Regions from separate parts of the Homo sapiens genome. Here region 2 is linked to region 1. The links are contacts of gene promoters, found by promoter capture Hi-C in human tissues and cell types (Jung and others, 2019). All regions are on one chromosome and are shown on one strand. The core of a region is centred on a gene start or on the middle of the fragment in contact, and the rest is flanking DNA. Distances in the headings are between cores, read along the strand shown. Region 1 holds the start of LRRC38 (leucine rich repeat containing 38). Region 2 has its middle 32 kb from the start of PDPN.

Region 1 (4,232 bases), core at 641-3,140:
TGGGAGGCTGGAATCCACTTGGGGGAAGGACACCCACCTGCCACCTGCCTCCTCACTCTGGGTGCTCATCCCTGTGGATGCTGGGGTCCCCTCCTTCTCAGCTCCACCCGTGCTCCCTTCCTGCGGGCCTTAATGGAGCCCCTTAACTCCCTCCGCCCTGGTGTTCCCATCTGCCAAGTGAGTTTTTATGCCCACGCCGCCATTGGAAGCGTGCACCAGGAAAGCAAAGGGGGCACCAGCCCTCTACATTTTGGTTCAGCTTTTTCACATCTGGCTGAAAAGCCACAGAGAACTACAAATCATTACTGCATCATTGGCTCTTAATGGGCTGCCATTATTCCACATCAGAAATCTTCCTCACCCATATTAGACAGAAGAGCAAACTGGAGCTGAGAAGCTGAGAGGCCAGGTTAGGCTCGGGAAGCTGCTGGAGAGCCCTTGGAACTGGCTGACTCCCCGTGCACGGTACTGAGAATACGGCCGTTTCCCATAGAGTAGGCTGCATTCCGCTTACCAGGGACGCATAAGTAATCCACACCCGCCAGTCCTAGGACCCAAAGCCCAGGGAGATGATCCTGGGCATCCCGAGAAGGGGAAGGTCCCTAACTTGGTAAAGTGAGTTACTGGAGAAACAGGGGAAGAAGTACAGCCTCAGGGTTCAGAAACTCCAAAGAATTCCAGATGCGTCCCTCTCCACCCACTTCCCCAGCAGAGACCCAGGAAAAGTTCAGGATCCCCCAAGCCTCCTCTTCCAAACTCAACCCACGGCTCCTCCCACCCAGACTGGGGTCTGGGGTGGCCTCTCCCTGCCCCCCTCCCTCCCTCCCCCAGCCTAGCCGGCTCGGCTCACCTTTGGGCAGTTTGGATGCGTTCTCCTGGATCCAGGAGAAGAGGTGGGCGAAGTCACAGTCGCACAGCCAGGGGTTCCCGTCCAGACGCAGGGAGCGCAGCGCGGGCAGCGCGGCCAGGGCGGCCACGCTGAGGCTGCGCAGGTTGTTGTCGTTGAGCTCCAGCACCTGCAGCGACTCCAGGGTCTCGAAGGCGTCCTCGTGCACGCCCACCAGGTTGTTGTTAGCCAGGCTAAGCTTCACCAGCCTCCCGGCCGAGCGGAAGGCGCCGGCGCCCAGCTGGGTCAAGTTGTTGTAGCTGAGGTCGAGGAACACGAGCTTGGCCGAGCCGCTGAACGTGCCCTCCTCCAGCGAGCGCAGCGAGTTGTTCCTGAAGTCCAGGTAGACCAGGTCGCCGTAGAAGATGAAGAAGTCCTCGGGGATCCGCTGGATGCGGTTGCCGGCCACCAGCAGCTTGCGCACGTCCAGGGGGAAAGGGTCTGGCACGCTGGGCAGCCCGCGGTCGCGGCAGTCCACGGTGTGCGGGTCGGTGCAGGCGCAGCCCGCGGGGCACGCGTGCCCGGGCGCGAGCAGCAGCAGAAGGCTGCAGAGCCCGAGCGCCGCGGCGGCGCAGGCTGGGGCTCGGGGGCGCATGGCCGGGGGGCCCGCGCCGGCCGCGGCGAGAAGGAAGCGGCTCTCGGAGCGAGCCCTGGCGCGGGACGGCGCGGTGAGGCACTGGCTGCCGGGCGCGGGGAGCCAGAGGGCGGCCCGGGCGGGGAGGGCGTGCGCCCGGGCGTGCGGGGGCGATGGAGCGCGGCGCGGACGGACTGGGGAGCCGGGACAGCAGGGATGGAGAGGGGAGGGGCGGGGAGGGAGGGGCGAGGGACTCACCAAAGGGTTTACCCGGACAGGAAATTAACCCGCTAGAAAAATCTCTTGGGAGAGGCGGGAGCGGCAGGGGTGGCCGAGTGGCCGTCGCCAAAACGCGGCCCCACCCTGGCAGCTGATTTCCGAGATCTGGCAGTAAGACGCCGCGCGCACCGGGCGGGCTGCACTCGACGTCTAAGTTCAGCTACCAAGCCCAGGAGCGGTTTCCCTAAGGCGTGTCCCGGGCGTGCGCCCTGCCCCCTCGCGCCCGCCTGGTGCCAAAGCACGCTCCCTGCACGCCACCCTATGTCGCCAAAGGGAGTGGGACCTGGGTCACTCTGACTCTGCTCCGGGGGCAATCCCTGCAGGTTCTCGGGTGCCGCGCCAGGGTCTGCTGGTCTGAATTTGGGCGGGGTTCCAAGGGGAGAGAGTGAGTGACTGGTCTTCCCTCTTCCCTCCCCCACCTGCACTTGAACCATCTTAGGCTGGAGGGTGAGCGAGGCAAGTGGCTGCCAGGGCCCCCGCTGTGGCCTGCAGGGCCAGTCAGCACTTTCCATGCCGGCCCCGAACTTCTGGATGGAACTGGCATCCATGCAAGGATCAGCTGCTGGTCTGAGAGGTCCAGCTGCTGAGGCTCTGAGGCCTGGAGTCACCAGGCCTGGCTTCCAAGCTGTGTGGCCTCAGACCAGTACCTCTGCCTCTGTGGACCTGGTAGCTCCATTTGTGAAATGGAAAAAGGTAATATATATCTCATCAGCTTTGGGGGAGGACCAAGAAGTCAAGAACAAAGTTCAAAAATTATCTTTTCCTCTCTCCCCCTCAAAACCCCACCTTGGATAGCCTAGGGAGGCAGTCAGGAACGTGCCAAGGCTGAGATGAAAGGACAGTGAGGAAATGCTGATGTCAGCCTCTGACACTGGCAGGAAAATTCCCTCTTCACCACCCCGATGCCAAACTCCTTTCTTTCTGTCCCACCTCATTCTAGAAACTTCTATATGGGGAGGGGTCCCCACAGAGCTACCAAGAGATTGTCCCGCTGTTGGCTATTTTGGTCCAAATGCCCTAGAATTGACAGACTCCCACTAGACCAAAATAACCCAGGGAACAGCTGTTGGGCAGCAGGCTCCCAGAGACCCTTCCCTGGCCCCTGGCCATGCTGGGGATTGGTGGAGCCTCGGATTCTGAAGCCATAAAGCTAAGCCCTCGGCCTTCTTCCAAAGGTACAGGCCGACTTGATGCCTCTGAGCCATGGGATGAAAAAACTGATCCCCTGGGATGGAGCCAAGGGCTCAACAGATGAGCATATTTGCAGGAGCCCTGGGGAAGAGGCGGGGGAGACCCAGGGGGAAGCTTTGAGGCACCTGGAGTCCTGCAGCTTTTCCCCTACTTACATTCCAGGCCACTAAGCCAGACCTCCCTCAGTTCTCCGTCTCTGTCTCCACTCTCCCAGGGTGCCCAATTTGCCATTGCCATCCCCAACTTCAAGGGCTCAGCTTCCCCACCCCAGTCTCATGCTCTTGAAGAGGCAGGTGTCGGGAGGAGTGGTCTGAATGCTCCCAGAGTGGATGAAAATGCTTCTGCCTACATAAATGATGTATAAATTATTGAAGAGTCACACAAAGTGCAGGCAGGTGGCAGAATAAACACATCTCCCACCCTTGCAACTCTGCAAAAGCAGCCTGAACCGAACTGTTGCACTCTGCCAATCTCAGGCTTGGTTCTGCCTGCTCCCTCCTGTACTGAGGGGAACCTATTACTGGTTTGAGCCCTTAGCATCATGGTTTCATGACACCCGCATTTGGTTGGGCTGCCATCTTGCACGTGCATGCCCGCGTGTCTGTATGTCTGGGTGTGTACACAAGCCCTCCCTGCCAAGTGGTCTGGTTGGCTGGAGCACTGACCTATATGAATCAAGACCCTGGGTCTGGTCCTGGCCCCACCACTAGCCACAGAATCTTTCACAAGCCACTTGATCTCTCTGGGGACTTCTTAGCCTGGGTCCCCAGATACTATGAAGAGGAGGTCTTTTCAAAATTTAAAAAAGTCTGGTGAAAATTAGGCCTTTATCTTTGAGGAGGTCTCCCGGATTAAATACTGCAATTCTTGCCAGTGAACTTAATGGTAGCACTAGTCCTTTTGTGCAGAACCGGCATTCATAGGTGACTTTAAGAAAAACAGAGATGAATTTCTACTGAATAAATGCAAGTATTTAGTTGACAAGGACTTGCAAAACAGGGGAATGCATGGTACTAAAATATTAAGAGGGGCTCTTGGTAACAAACCTATTGAGAAATACCACTCCTAGCCTTGATTTCCTCATCCTGAAACTAATGAAAAAATACCTTTCTTCTTCCTTTCCACAGACAACGTGAGGGCCGCATGGGGAAGTATTTGTATGGGAACATGATTTGAAAGGTCTTTGGAGAAATATTGCCAATAAAAGTGGCCACAAATCTTGCGATGGCAGGAACAATTTGTTTCCTCGAGTGTCCCCCAAAGTTCCTTGGATCCAAATGTAAGCATTCTTTTCATTAATAT
Region 2 (4,515 bases), core at 768-3,267, 38 kb after region 1:
AGCAGCACGATCTCCGTTCACTGCAGTCTCTGACTCCTGAGCTCAAGCGATCCTCCCACCTTAGCCTTCAGAGTAGCTGGGACCACAGGCACACACCACCACATCCAGTTAATTTTTGTATTTTTTGTAGAGATAAGGTTTTGCTATGTTGCCCAAGCTGGGCTCAAACTCCTGGGCTCAAGCTATCTACCTACCTTGGCCTCCTGAAGTGCTGGGATTACAGGTGTGAGCCAACATGCCTAGCCCATTTATATATGTATATACATATACATATATATACACGTATACATATATGTATACGTATATATACACACATATGTGTATATATATACATATATAAATGGACCAGGCATTAAATTAGTTTATACATATATATATATAAATTCCTCTTTAAAGAAACTTCATATCTCTATAGTCAATGGAAAACCAGTATCACTTCCCATAATATAATGTAACCATAGGATAAAGATAATGCAAACAAAACAATTGTATTAAATTCTAGCTGGATACTGTTGCTGGTGCAGTATCCCTTAACAGGTGTTGAAGAGGTGTTTAAGACACAACACATAATTCACATAAGAACACATGATTCAGACTTTCTCCTTGATATGATTCAAAGATTAAAAATGAACTGAATTCCTCTTCGAGAAGTACGGCATATCAGTTCCTCTGAAGGCTCCTCCTCTGTAATATAACTAGGTCTCAGGAAAATTACAATAAACATAGTTTTATGCGCTGCTAGGCTTGTATGAAAATAAAGGCTCTCTAAGGTTGGTGGGGAGATGGGAGGAGAATACTAAATTGACAGTAGATTGGGAACAGTCAGCAAATGTAACCGGAGGAGACAGTGTGAGTACCAGCCCTGGAATCCGCACACTAAGCCTTGAGCTCTCTGTGAGATAGGGAAGCTAAATCTGAGACTCTTGCCTTAAGCCCTGATTCTTTCAAGGGAGCTTAAATGTATCCAGTGTGGTAACAGCCTCTGGCTCTTGAGAAAAGCAAACACAAATTCTCTCCGGAATAAAGCATCACCAATAAATGCTCCCAGGATCCCTACAGATTATGTTCAACCAATAAAAAAAACACACACACAATAAAAATTTCACAATAAAAAACATTACCAAACTTGCCAGGAAACAAGCTTCGCTGAGTGAGATCAACAGAATTAACTAAATACAGATTTAGAGTCATATAAATTTCTGATGCTGGAACTGTCAGATACAAAATATAAAGTATGAAGTGTTTACAGAAAAAAATATGTAACTAAAAACTGAACAAAGACCAAGAGACCATAAAAATTGATCAGGCAGATTGGAAAGAAACCACATAGAAATTTTAGAATCGAAAACTATAATCATTGAAACTCAATATATTTGTTAAGCATCAAATAAGAGAAAGATGAGTAAACTAAGAGATAGATCTGAAGAAATTATCCAGAAGGCAAAACAGAGACAAGCAGATGGAAAATATGAAAGATAAGGAAATTCCAATGAGAAAGCATTATACACACCACATTAAATTAGTTAATATATGTAAACACTCAGAATAGTGCCTGGCAATTAGTATCAACAAAGCCAAATGTTGGTTCTTTGACAAAATCAAGTGTTGGTTCTTCTGATGATAACAATTTAAAAACCTCTGGCAAGAAGAATCAAGAGAAAAAAAAAAAGACATTGCCCAAATAAACAAGATCTGGCATTAGCTGAGACAAAAAGATAAGCATATACTATAAACATTATGGTAATACATTGGAAAATATAGATGAAATAGGCAAGATAATAGAAAATGTCATTTACCAAAACTGACTAAAGGGGAAATAGAAAATTTGAACCATCATATAAACATTAAGGAAATTGAAGGTTGAATTAATAGTTAAAATTTGACTAAAAGTGCATATACCAATCCCAGGGATATTCACAAGGGAATTTTAACAAACTTTCAAAGAACAGAGGAATTGGAGGAAACATTCCCCAATTTATTCTATAAGGTGAATAAAACTTTTATATTAATGCCAAGCAAGAATAATACTAAAAAGGAAAATTGGTCGGGTGCAGTAGGCCACATCTGTAATCCCAACACTTTGGGAAGCAGAGGTGGGAGTATCACTTGAAGCCAGGCGTTCCAGACCACCTTGGGCAACATAGTGAGACCTTCATCTCTAGGGAAAAAAAAAAAAAAGTTTCTGAGCATGGTGGCACACTCTTGTAGTCCTAGCCTGGGAAGTTGAGGTTGCAGGGAGCCGAGACTGTGCCACTGTACTCCAGCCTGGGTGACAAAGCGAGACCCTGCCTCCAAAAAAAAAAAAAAAAAGAGTTTAGCAAAGTGGCTGCAAATAAGAGCTAAGGCAGGCAGATCACGAGGTCAGGAGTTCAAGACCAGCCTGGCCAACATGGTGAAACCCTGTCTCTACTAAAAATACAAAACAAAATAGCTGGGTGTAGTGGCATGTGCCTGTAATCTCAGCTACTCGGGAGGCTGAGGCAGGAGAATTGCTTGAACTCAGGAGACAGAGGTTGCGGTAAGCTGAGATCACGCCATTGTACTCCAGCCTGGGTGACAGAGCAAGGCTGTGTCTCGGGGAAAAAAAAAATCAATATACAAACATCAATTGTACTTTTATACACAGGCAACAAATGGAAATATTATTTTTGCCTAATCTCACATCAAGACTTATGATGAAGTTATGGTAAGTAAAACAGTATGATATTGATGCAGTTACAGACATAATAATCAATGCGCTGGGCGCGGCGGCTCACGCCTGTAATCCCAGCACTTTGGAAGGCCGAGGCAGGCGGATCACCAGGTCAGGAGACCGAGACCATTCTGGCTAACACGGTGAAACCCCGTCTCTACTAAAAATACAAAAAAAAAAAAATTATCCGGGCGTGGTGGCAGGCCCACATGTAGTCCCAGCTACTCGGGAGGCTGAGGCAGGAGAATGGCATGAACCCGGGAGGCGGAGCTTGCAGTGAGCCGAAATAGCGCCACTGCACTCCAGCCTGGGCAACAGAGCGAGAAGCCGTCTCAAAAAAAAAAAATTATAATCAATGCAACAGGCTAGACCCCCAATTATTTGCAAACCTTATACATGAAGGGGAGCTATATCAGTTCCATGAGTAAAAGATGTACTATGAAACTAATCTTGAGATAAATGGTTAGCCACCTGGGGTGGGGATGGGGGTGATTGAACCCTTACCTGACACCACATACAAAATCAATTTCGAGTGGATTAACAACTTAAAAGTAGGACATAAAAGTTTAAAACTTCATAATAAAATATGAAAGAATATTTTTGTGACCTAGAGATAAGGTAAGAGTTTTTTACACGACTTAAAAGAAAAACTTGGCACATTGAGTTACATTAAAATTAACCATTTCTGTTCATCAAAAGATACCATAAAGAAACTGAAAAACAAGTCATAAATTGGGGGTATATTTGCATACACATAACCACGAATAAGTGGCAGCATATAAAGGATATAGACATGTATTAACTTTGACAAATCAATAATAAAAAGACAGTCTAGGAACAAAACGGACAAAAGATATGAGCAGACCTTTCAATGAGAAAATGCATATGGTGGATAAACATATGGAACGATAACCAATCTCACTAGTAGTTGTACTAATTTGCATTTAGCACCCAAATGAACTGTACTATTTTACACCCTCTAGGTCTGCATAGTGCAGGAATTAAGAGCACAGACTCCGGAACCAAATCCTGGCTCCTCCACGGCCTTGGGAAGGTAGCAACATCTCCATACATGCCTCAGTTTTCTCTATGGAGAAAGGAATATTAACCCAGTAAAATCCGATTGGAAGTTGGCTACCATTATTCCCCCTGCTCCTGTTTCCATTCTGTCAACTTCAAATAGTGCTACCTAGTATCTTAAACGATTGGATATTTTGGACTTCATTTATAGGATTATGGCAGGATTTGGCTGTGGTAACTAATTCATAAGTATTGTAGGAAAATTAATATATATGAAACTATGTCACAGTCATTCTCTACCCCAGTGGGCTTCACATTTTTATTCTGCTTACATATATTTAAAAATAATCTTGAAAAATGATGTACCCTCTCTGCACACTTTAAAACTTAGATTTAAAATTCCTCAGCACGGCCAGGCACGGTGGCTCATGCCTGTAATCCCAGCACTTTGGGAGGCCAAGGCAGGCGAATCACAAGGTCAGGAGTTGGAGACCAGCCTGCCAATATGGTGAAACCCTGTCTCTACTAAAAATACAAAAAAAATTAGCCGGGCGTGATGGCAGGCCCCTGTAGACCCAGCTACTAGGGAGGCTGAGGCAGGAGAATAGCTTGAACCCGGGAGGCAGAGGTTGCAGTGAGCCAAGATGGCGCCATTGCACTCCAGGCTAGGCGAGAGAGCAAGACTCTGTCTCAAAAAAAAAAAAAAATTCCTCAGCACAAGTTCAAATAGTTGCACAAGATACAATTTTACACCCAGCATAGTGTAAATGTTGACCTTTTAAAATAAATGATTACATTACTCT

What was found. The method cuts DNA at HindIII sites, captures the fragments that hold promoters and counts their contacts. A contact is called where the count stands out against the background at its distance.
Region 2: a fragment that was not itself captured here is called in contact with the fragment with the promoter of LRRC38 in region 1 in 1 of the 25 tissues and cell types used here (spleen).

Annotation. Positions count from the first base shown.
Region 1 is chr1:13,512,113-13,516,344 of GRCh38, forward strand. LRRC38 (leucine rich repeat containing 38) reads right to left here and starts at 1,891. Exons shown (of 2, transcript NM_001010847.2): 1 at 851-1,891. The coding sequence starts at 1,481. It overlaps LOC107984918 (a long non-coding RNA gene), which reads left to right and starts at 1,108. Exons shown (of 3, transcript XR_001737896.2): 1 at 1,108-1,229; 2 at 2,179-2,432; 3 at 4,058-4,152. The HindIII fragment of the contact is 3,544 bases long and covers 138-3,681 here.
Region 2 is chr1:13,549,940-13,554,454 of GRCh38, forward strand. No RefSeq gene overlaps it. Among named protein-coding and RNA genes, the nearest start is that of PDPN, 32 kb to the right of the region's middle. The HindIII fragment of the contact is 3,082 bases long and covers 477-3,558 here.